Linked DNA regions of Homo sapiens: region 2 is linked to region 1. Evidence: promoter capture Hi-C in 16 types of primary human blood cells and fetal thymus (Javierre and others, 2016). All regions are on one chromosome and are shown on one strand. Each heading gives the region's core, a stretch centred on a gene start or on the middle of the fragment in contact. The rest is flanking DNA. Distances are from core to core; before and after follow the strand shown. Region 1 holds the start of PJA2 (praja ring finger ubiquitin ligase 2). Region 2 holds the start of STARD4-AS1 (STARD4 antisense RNA 1).

Region 1 (5,583 bases), core at 1,361-3,860:
CATAAGCATCTTGGAAAGCCAAGACTAGAAGGAAATATTTTAATATCAGCGGCTTTACCAGAAAGCTTCACCAAACATCATAATTAATGCTAAAACATTAGAAGCATTCCCCCTTAAAGTCAGAAACAATGCCATGTTTGTTGTTAGCTATCAGTGCTATTAGTTTTTAATCTACCAGTGCTCAACATTTTATAAGATGTATAATTGCAAAAGCAATGAGAAAAACACATAAGTTATAAAAACTGAAAAGGAAACCACAAAACTGTGAATATCTCCTGATAATCAACTCAATAAAATAATCTGATACATGATAGAAAACTCAAAAGTTTTGCTATAACCAGAGAAAACAGAGAGAGAGAAATGTTACTGAAAGTTTCCATCCACCACACGAATCAAACCATAAAATAGGAATACCAGGAAGGAATGTTATACGTATGAAGAAAAAAAAGAAAAACTATAAAAATTTCCCTAACAGTATAAAACAAGATGTGAATAAAATGGAGAGGCCACATTTCTGAGGAGAGAGACTCAATACTATAAAGATCAGTTGTCTCCAAATTAATCTAAAATTTCAATATAACCTTATTCAAAATAGCTAAGGATTTTTAGTTCAGTCTAAAGTTTACCTAGAAGAAGAAATGCATAAGAAACATTCAAGAATATTTTCAACAAGAGTAATAAAGAGGGAGAAAGGGTTACCAAAATTTAAAATATGCATAATCTTTTAACTGAGCAACTTCACTTCTAGGAACCCATGCTCCAGAAATAATCACACATAGAGGAAGTTTACTGAATTGTTAACAGTGGCTGACAATCAAGATGCAAGCAGGACTAGAAGTGGAAGCGGTAATTTTTACCTTACATTCTTCCATACTGTTTAATTTTTTAAAATCAAGGATGAATTAAAATTTGTAATTAAACATCGATCAATAAATTAGAAAGTTATTTTCATTATAAATCATCATTTGTAATAGCAAAAAGAAACTGCAATTAAATGTCTTTCAAAAAGGGAATAGAATAAATTATAGCCCATTCAAACTCACGAGATACCAGTTAGCCTTTTAAAAAGTATTAGGGAGACCTATATGTAAAAAGTAAAAATGTCCAACATATGTAATTAAGTCAATAAGCAAGCGGTATGCAAACATGTTTGGTATATGGTATAGCCTCCCTCAAAAAAAAAAACTTTACGTGTACTTGTATGTGTCTAGAAGTGCATTTGCAAGATTTTGAAAAATGAACACTAAACTGTCAACTTTACACTGGAGTGGGACTGGGGGATGAAAAGAAATATTTAAATTTTACCTAACAGTCCGTTATTTATATTGTTGAAGTGTACATCAAACTTGCATGTCTGCAATGAATTTTTAAAATTAAGTGGTCATCTCATATAAAAATGACATGAACCCCAAAAGACAATTACAACACTGAAAAATACAGTTTAAACGTTTATTACTGTTATCCTCAGGTTTATTCACATACACTTCAAATGATCCGTAGCCTTCAGCAAAGGTGACTGCCATTTTAAAGAAATGTGACCAAATATTTCATGATAAAACAGAATACATTAAGCCTGCAATGAAAATTTTAAACTTCACAGAACCAGCAGACTCAAAAGAAGCGCCTATGCGGATGTAAATTTTTTTTTTTTTAATGTCCGGAGAAGGAACTCTCAGATTACTCTCCTCCCTGCAAAACGACTATTTACCACCTCCCCTTTGCTTCAACTTGGTCTGAGCGTCTTTAACCTCACCATTTTGAATGTGCGCAAAATGATTACCAGTCATCTGAGGGAGGCCAAATTAAAGGTGCATCTGCAAGAGGAGCTCTGGCCTGACATCGCTAACTGAGAGCAGCCCTGGCGGAAAGGTGCTGATCCCGGGAGTAGAGCGACTGCTGCGGCTCGAGCGGGGTGTCTGCGTGCCGAGCCTCACTGACAATCGGGGAAAATGCAGACGCCCAGCAAAACGACGGCAACAGAAGGCTCCTCGGGGGAGGGGTGCTGCAGGCCTGTGGCGTAAGATGGTTCCGCTCTACGCGGGGTGACGGGAAACCGCAGAAGGTGGGTGTGAGGTGTTGGTTGGGGGGCAAACTCTTGTACAGTGGCGAGTGTAGGGGAAAGCCAGCGGGCTCCTTGGCCAAGTCACCAAGGACAGCAGAAGAGGCAGCAGTAAAGAGCGGCAGCGAAGACCCCGATACCAACCAATGTCATCTGTCGGGGGGCGGCGGGCGCGACCGTCCCGGATAGGAGCGCGGCCCGGGTCCGGGCTGGACAGGGCCCAGGAGGCGAAGAAGGCCTCCCACAGCCATCAACCCCACCCACCATGGCCGGCGCAGCAGGCCAGGGACAAGCCCCGCTCCTTCCGAAGCTAGAGACAGAGAAACTGAGGAGCTGAACGCAGCAATTTCCTCGCCCCGACCCCCACACTCCCGACAGCGGAACAAGCCAGACTGAAAAAAAAAAAAAAAAACCCTCACCGAAATGTGCAGCGGCTCCGGAGCGAGAACAGCGCTCGAACCTCCACCCGCCACCACCGCCTTCTTCTCCGCCTCCAACTCCTCCCCCGCCGAACGCGAAGCGGCTGGCGGCTGTGGCGGCGGCGGCGGCGGTGGCGGCGGCGGAAGCAGAGGCGGTGGCGGTGAGTCCCGCCCCTTGCGCCGCGGTGGAGGCGAAGGAGGAGAGTACGCAAGCCCCTCCCCCATAGCAGAGATGACCAGTCAGCTTACAGGGTCTCTGCTGGGGGACAATGCATACGCCCAATCAGAACCTGAGGAGTGGGCTCACGTCAATGGTTGGGACGTGGCAGAAAAAGGGAAAAATACTTGGACCTTCTCTACAGCCTGCTCCCCCATCTCCCTCAGGGGGAGTTCACCAATTGGCTGAAGAGCGGAAAGACGAAGCCGACTCAGTCCCCCGCCCCAGCCGAGCCCACCTCCTTTCCCTGCAGTACTGCGACGTTTGGGGAGGGGGCGGAGCACCGTGTAGGAGCTAAAACTGCGCGGCCTTTTGTGGTTTGGGCTGAGAGAAAAGGGCGGGGTCTCGGAAAGGGAAGGGGGTGTGGAGAACTAACAGAAAGACTGGCGCAGTTAGGCTTTTTCGGAAATTCCAACAGCAACAACCAAAATGGAGGCATTAAAATCGATCCTGATTCGACTGGAAACCTGATTAACAAGGTTAAGGTCTCCTGGCATAAAGTTCAGTTACAATGCAGATATCGGTGAGACAAAAAAAAAAAATGACACGAAGAAAGGCTTGTTTACCCACCCTGACCCTGGGCACTATATGGCGCTTTCCACCCTCCCTCTCCGCGCTGACCCTTGCCCCTCGCTTCTTATTCTGCTGGGGCGGGGTTCAGAGGAGGCCTGCCTTTCCTCTGTATAGCCTTGGGCTGACCACAGCCTCCCAGCTTGCATCTTGAGGCTGTTTGTCAAGCCGGGAAGTAACAGCTCCCATCACATGCAACCAAAATAAATACAACAGCTGCAGTCCCCGGACACCTTGCTTAATTTAAACCTGGGTAACAGTTTAGTTAATTATGTCAGTGATACAAAACTGTTTCTTCGTTCCGCACATATTCCCTTTATTCATCTTGAAACGTGTCCGCTTATCTGATTACAGTCCCTCTGTCTTCTCTTATTCCCCACCCCCGACCCGTCGCCTGATGCCCAGGATATATTCATCGCCACCCCTCCCCCGCGAATTAAGAGCCCCACTTCTTGTGCTGTCCCCTTAACAACAGCGAACTCTCTTGCCAGTGAACTGAGACTAATTTTTTTTTGCTGTTGATGGAAATAAATTACCCAAAATTTACTGTAGAAATTTAGGTTTATGAGAATTTGCCAGACATTTTGTGAAATCCAATCTGAATCCCAGCCCACTCCTGTAGTACGTTTCTTACCAAAAAACCATTCCTTGCTTGATATTACTCTGCCTTCACACGTGTTGCTATAGGAGTTCTGACTTTAACCATCCAAGTACCTCTTTGAAAAAAAACAAAATTCATATTTTAATTACATTTCCCTAGTTTCCCTTTAGGGTGTTCCAGATTGGCCCAACTGGATACATTAACCTGTTCTAGAAGGCAGGGATTCCCAAATTTCAACCTTTTTCATACTGTATCTGTGTATACTACTCACTGTCCTTTTTTCTTTAAATAAATGTATATTTTCTTTAATTTCTTTAAGAAGGAGACTTTATAAAAGTACTATAAATGGAAAACTAGCATCACCTATTATAAGTTGAAAGTAACTGTAAGAAAAATGAATGCAAAACAATGTTTTTAAATTGTGGCTAGAAACTGTTGTCCACTAAAGGCTCTAAGTCTAAAGACAACTGTCTTTGTTAAAAGGGCAAGCTACCAAGCATTAGACACACATTAAAGATACAGCACTCAAATGGTATTTTTATCATGATGTCATCAAAGGATAGAAAAAATAGAGCCGGAATAGCAATCACTTTCTCACTATATGAGTCATTGTTTTTAATCCTGCATGCGTGTCCCAACTACAGTTAACCAAGGCATCATAAGTGATCTATGTTACTATGAGAAACACTGGTATGGAGGCTGAAAAAGCCTGTACTCTAGAATCAAGCAGACATATTCACATACTGGCTCCTGCATTTGTAGCCGTGTGCCTCTGGGCAATCTACTTTGTTCTCTGACCTCGATTTCCAGTTTATTATAAATATGGGAAAGTAATAATACCAATTCATGAGTTGTATAGATTAAATAACCTAATCAATGTAAAGCATATCATACCTACAATGAAGTACTAAATACATATTAGCTTATGTATTGTATTACTATATAGAGATAATAGTATGTATTATTCGCTTATATGTATTATTGTTGATTCCAGGGTTGGGAAGCACTATCTAAGGCAATGGATTGAAGGTACTACATGATATACTGCAGTGGTTCCTAAAGTATATTATAATCCCTACACCAACAGCATCAGCATTACTTAGGAACTTTTTAAAAATGCAAATTCTGGCAAGGCGTGGTGGCCCATGCCTGTAATCCCAGCACTTTGGGAGGCTGAGGTGGGCAGATCACTTGAGGAGTTCAAGACCAGCCTGGCCAACATAGTGAAATCCTGTCTGTACCCAAAAATACAAAAATTAGCTGGGCGTGGTGGCACATGCCTGTAGTCCCATCTACTCGGGAGGCTGAAGCAGGAGAATCCCTTGAACCCAGTAGGCAGAGGCTGTAGTGAGCAGAGATCACGCCACTGCACTCCGGCCTAGGTGACAGAGTGAGACTGTCTCAAAAAAATAAAAATAAAAAATAAATAAATACATAAAATGCAAATTCTCAGGTTCAACCTCAGACTTGAATCAGAAACTCTAGGTATGTTGCCCAGCTGTATTTTTACAAGCCTTCCAGGTAATTCTGACATACGTAAAGTTTGATGACCACTAATTTAAATAGAAGAAGGCTTGGTCAAGGAGTGAGAGGATCTATGTTCTAATCATAGCCTTAAAGTGATGTCAGCCAAAATGAAGGTGTAAGGACCTCTGAAAATTCTCTTCAGCAATGAGAACACTGGCAAAATTGTCAGAACTAACTTTTTTAGAACTCT
Region 2 (5,583 bases), core at 1,870-4,369, 2.1 Mb after region 1:
CTTGATAGCCAGTTCAATAACTTTATTCAAGAGTATGCCACAAACAAGCAGAAGTTCTTGCAGAAGGCTTGTAAAAGAGATTTAATTTATCTATTACAGGGATCACTATGATTAAACATATTCTTTAAACCCAAAGGTCACCTGCTAGGTTCCTGTGGTTGGCAGATAAGAGTATTTATGCAAAACTTTTTGATAGAAATCAAAGGTGAAACAGAAAGTTATTATTATCATAAGCAAACATTATCACTGGGCAAATCCAGTGCACGGAAAGTTACCTAGAAAGCTAGCTACCTAGAAGAGATGAGAATCTGCAACTTTAAGGTACTTGACTTAGTAATTCATACTGATCAGTATAAAGTTCAAGCTCCTTACTATAGCTTACAGGCCCTTTTATAATGTGGCATATTTTCATTACCTAATTTCCACTTATCTTTCCTGGATTCCCCTGAACCTGGGTTAGTTCCCCCTCCAATATTTTCTGACAGCAACTCTGTACTGTAATTATTCACTTGTTATCTTCTCCCGTTTAACTGTAAAATCTTTGGGGGGTAGGAAATCTGGCTTGTTCAATATTAATTCTCCTTACGTCTAGCACTCAGTAGGAACACAGTGAATAAAAAATGGAAAAATGTATAGACAATAAGCTACCATTCTCACTTATGGAAGACCTCAAGATATCTAAAGTATGCCCATTTACGCCAATCCTAGAGCTTCTGAATAACTAAAACTTCCTTTACCATAATGAAACACCATTTCTCAAGAAGGACTACTATTAAATATTTATCAAGCATCTATTATATACCAGGTCCTAGAACTACAGAAACAGATGGAATTCAGATTTTACTCTCAAATTGACTTATTCCACCCTTAAGCTTTAACAGAAATAACAACAACAAAAACTAAAACATTAAAAAATTCTATTAATAGCCTTTTTAAGAGTGGTGCAGTGGGAGGTAGGAAAGGAAGAGAAAGAAGTACAAAATCAGAAAGCTCTCTCTGATTAAATATGTCCAGCAATGTATTTAACCAAACAGTTAAGTCTTGCATGGATTATTTTCATCAAGATTAAGTCCATAATGAAATAATCATTGCCATCAAAACTGCTACCTCTGTGTAAACAGGCATAATTGAGCATTTCTCAAAATATTAATATATTCTAGAACCAAGAGGGTTGGGGGAGATGGGTTATCAAGGTCTTGGCTCTCTCTCCTAATATAACAGGGTACTGACATTAATTGAGAGGAAAACACCTAATTTGCCCTCCTGCAATCTCCAACTGTGGAGAATGTCAGGTAAATGTTTTAAATGCCATTCTGAACCCATTCTGAACTTCCTTTTACTAATTCAGTCTTTTATTCCCTTATCTTGACCTTATATCAGGAAATTATCCAACTCTAACATTTACACGTCAGAGAGAACAGGCACCACTTAACCTTATCAGAATATAATAGGTTCATATAAAAGATTTTATACTCTTGTCAGTCCCATGGCCAAATGCTGAGTAATGTCCACCTCCATGTTTTTCCTTTAATCTTTTTGTTCATGTTTTCTATGCCCATGCTTTTGAAGCTATCACTAGTGGTGATAGTGGCTGCCATCATAGGGAGGGCAGCTGTCTCAAGTTACTTTTCTTGAGGCCATCTATCAGCACCATAGTCTTGACCAATCCAACTCCAATTATTCTCAAATATCTGTCACAGTGAGATGGCATAGGTTCTATTTTAAATATGGAACATAATAAAACATTTAACCTGTAATGTAAAGTGAATGCCATAAAAATCTGTTTGGACTTTTGTAGTACGACTAGGTCAGAATTCACTTGTTAAAGAAATGCAGGTATCAGAACGGTCTAACCTTGCATTACTTGATTAATATGGTTTTCACTTCCGTCAACAGCTTCAGTTTAACATGCCATGGACTTTCCCCAATGTCATACAAACCAAAGCTTTGTAAATTAAATTATATTTTCTAACTAACATAAAAATTTCAGCATATGCTTGATTTCCAATCAATGTTGAACTGTTAAGTTTTCTAACTCAGACAAGTACAGCAGCTTCTCATTTTTTGAGACTGGCTCTGGCAGGAGCTCACTATTTAAAGAAATGCAACATGGAAGTATATTTCTACAATATGAATAGTGAGCCAACTTACTGTTCAAACCCCTAATGCTCTAATACTTGATTAAAAAAAAAACCTAATGCTCTGTACTTGATTTTAAAAAATAACAATAACATTTATTGATCACTTACTACATGGTCAGTCCTTCTGGCTGCTTTACATTGCATTTATTTTATTTAATCCTCACAACAGTAATAGTCCTCCTTGAGAAAATGTGTTTCATTATGGTAAAGGAATTTTAGTTATTCAGAAGCTCTAGGATTGGTGTAAATGGGCATACTTTAGATATCTTGAGGTCTTCCATAAGTGAGAATAGTAGCTTAATGTCTATACATTTTCCCTGTTTTACAGAAAGGGAAAATAGCAACAGGAAGGTTGAGTCACTTGTCCAAGATCACACAGTTCATAAGTGATGGAGCCAGAATTCCAACCCAGGGCGTCTGACTTCAGAGCCTAAAGCTCTCTCTTGTAAAACTGTGGAAGCTGATCACAGGCTGGAAAAGACTTCATATAAAAAACCTGGGCCCACCAAATATTTGTCAAGTTTTGTCCTGGCTGCTGAACCTAAAAATCTAAGGTAATCTTTCTCAAGTGTAAATTCGGGAAAACAATGACACTGATTTGGTGAGAAATTATTTGAGTTAATACATTTAGCAGGGACCTTGGAAGGCAGTAAGCCCTGGGAAAACTTTGTCTCTTGTCTTTGGCATCACCTCCGCGAAGCCTGGTGGGACGCGGCTGCCCCTGCGCTGTCTGTGCACCTCCTAAGAACCAGGAAGCGCGGTGACCTCCAAAGAACAGGACTGTCCCAAATCAAGCGGGATTACCACCGCCCCTCTCCCATTTAACAGCTGAGGACACTGAGGTCTAATGGATTCCAAGTACTTAAATAGGTGAGCGGCGCGCAGGGGCGAGTTGCAAGCCCTGGGATCCTTCCAGCTCGCCGCTTCCCCTCCCAGGGGCTCAGGTTTCTCTTTCATCTGTGAGGTCCTCTCCCGCCCGGACGCCGGGGCCCGCCATCCCCAACGTCCACCGCGAGCTCCCCAGATCCATGGTCTGGAGCAGGTCCAGAAGACGCACCTGGCAGGACGCCCCGGGCGCCACAGTCGCCCTCCACACGGGCCACCCCAATCCTGCCGCGGCTCCGTGGCTCTCCTTACCTTTACCTGAGGTGAAGCAAGGACGTGGAAGCAGCTACGGCGCGCTACCAAGCACCTCACACCGCTCTCAACAGTACTGCTCAGCCTCCCGGCCCGCCGATGCGCAGGCGACAGCAGCCAACTTGTAAGTCACCGCTGGTCGCAGCCAACTGGAAGGCACCCAGCGCCTCAGGGCAAGGCGGGCCGAGCCCCCAGCCCCGCCCCCTGGCCCGATCCCGGGGGCTCCGGGGAGGGGGGGCTGAGAGGAGGTGGCCGGAACAACGTGCGCTTGTTCGGATTGGCTGGCGCGGGAGCGTGTGGAGGGCTGATTGGTGGCCGATAAATGGAATGATTCCGCGTGGGTGTGGGCTGGCCCGAGCCGCGCCAGGGTTCCCTGGATGTCTGGGGTTGCCTGCAGGTTTGGATTGGTTGGGTTGGGTTGTCCTGTGATCACTTAATTGTGAAAGAATTTTGTCAAGCAGTAAACCGACTGGGAGAAATTGAAACAGAAGGCGAAGTGAAGGATCACAGTGAGGGATAAGGTCCAAATTCATCCCGCTTGTGGATATCCTAGTATCTCGCAACTACGCTACTCCTCCCAGGACTAAAAGTCAAATAAGAAAAAGCGCCCATGCAGAGGAGGACGAGCTCTCTGCCTCCTGCTTAGCCTGACTCAGAACTGAGAGAGCTGGGAAGGAAAATGCATATAAACGAAAGTCCCTGCCACTATGTGAATTGACCTTTAGCCAAATACGTTTGTGTGTGTGTGGGTGTGGGTGTGTGTGGGTGCGTGTGTGTGTTTCCATCCTCAGATAAAGAGTTTAGAGGGCAACCTTAGAAGCAGAGAAAAGGAGGAGGTGTGACAAGTGGATTTAGCAACTGCACAGTTTTGGAGTTTCCATCTACTCGAACATGAGAAAGATTTCTTCCAGTGGCTGTGAAGTCACCCATCTGATGGGATGCTTGGCAAACAGTGAATTTCTTCCTTTACCAGAGTAGCCATGATGCACTGATTAGCGAGGCTTGGTTTGTCTGCAAATTGCGTTTACTAAGATACGTAGTTTGAGAACCAAAAGCAGGGAAGAATGCAGTGCTACACCATTAGTGATTTCTGATAGACTTGCAATGAAAATAAATAATATTTCGTAAATTTTTAAGTCGGCCTCACCAAAAGAATTACCAAATACTACTTGCTAGTTATTATTGGCCGATTTATTTTTTACCTCCATCGTTTATATGTAAAATAATTTGTTTTATATTTATATTTATAATTTCGTGTGACATAATAGAAGAGTTCTTCGTGTGTTGTAAAGCTCCTTTCACTTAGGAATTATTGGCCAATTATTGAGGTGCTTTGGATGGATGGATGAATACGTAGATAAATAATTTGAAATGGTTGGGGAAAAGTGCTTTGTAATTAAGTTGTACCTACTTAATTCAATTACATTGAATCCTCTTAACAGCCCCCTAAGGTAGGTGTGTTTTACAGGCGAGGAGCCCCAGACATAAATCTTAAGGCAGGTTGCTTAATTACTGAGTGGAGAAACTGGAATTTGGCTGAGGTCTGCTGGACTCTGAAACTGGGCTCTTAGTCTCCATAAAATTCAGATGGTGCTTGGTAGCTCTTTGTCAAGGCACCTGTGAAGACCACTGGGACCATAAATGAAAGGCCTAATTCCTACTGTGAGGGTTTACACAGGTTTAATGGTGGAGAGGAATAAATCCACGTATCTATTTCAAAAAAGTAAAAAAGTTGTATCTGTCATTATTAGGATTCAGTTCTGGATACTTTGCTCAACAGTCTATATATTCTCTTGCAGGATGGTGTAAAACATGTTTAAAACAAAATTAACTTGGCTTTTTTTTTTTGGACGGCGGGAGTCATTACATCACACTTATGCCCCCATGGGATTTCTTATCTTCCAGCCAGTTTCTGGGAGGTTTTTGTTTCTTTTGCTTTTGTTCTTCATCTGTTGCCATTTTTCTTGGTTAGAATGAAGTTTGGGTAATTGGAAGCCACTCTATCAAAGTGGAATGCTACTAACAGCAAAGCTTCAGATTCAGAAATACATATACAAATACATCATCTGGAGCTATTTTTGAGGGTTTAGTATGGTCCAAACACAGTGCTAAGCATTTTACATTTTACAGCAATGCCTGAAAATAGGCATGTACTATTACTATTTTCATTATACACATGAGAGAACTGTAGTATGTAACACAACAGATAGATCTCCCCTACAAATAGTTTGAAAATGGGAAAATAAGGTCTCCATCTAGAATTCAAATATAAAAGAGGCATATAATGAATTTGATCAGCTAAATG

The links. Contacts are between HindIII fragments. The CHiCAGO score rates a contact against its expected background, and 5 or more counts as called.
Region 2: the fragment with the promoter of STARD4-AS1 here is called in contact with the fragment with the promoter of PJA2 in region 1 in 1 of 17 cell types (activated CD4 T cells); the score reaches 5.5 in activated CD4 T cells.

What each region holds. Positions count from the first base shown.
Region 1 is chr5:109,407,364-109,412,946 of GRCh38, forward strand. PJA2 (praja ring finger ubiquitin ligase 2) reads right to left here and starts at 2,611. Exons shown (of 10, transcript NM_014819.5): 1 at 2,479-2,611. RefSeq lists enhancers at 1,696-1,795, 1,836-1,955, 3,066-3,245 and a silencer at 2,476-2,555. The HindIII fragment of the contact is 12,845 bases long and covers 64-5,583 here.
Region 2 is chr5:111,509,107-111,514,689 of GRCh38, forward strand. It overlaps STARD4-AS1 (STARD4 antisense RNA 1), which reads left to right and starts at 3,120. Exons shown (of 7, transcript NR_040093.1): 1 at 3,120-3,402. STARD4 (StAR related lipid transfer domain containing 4) reads right to left here and starts at 3,429. Exons shown (of 6, transcript NM_139164.3): 1 at 3,279-3,429. RefSeq lists enhancers at 78-197, 3,064-3,273, 3,754-3,893 and a silencer at 3,304-3,673. The HindIII fragment of the contact is 3,364 bases long and covers 1,944-5,307 here.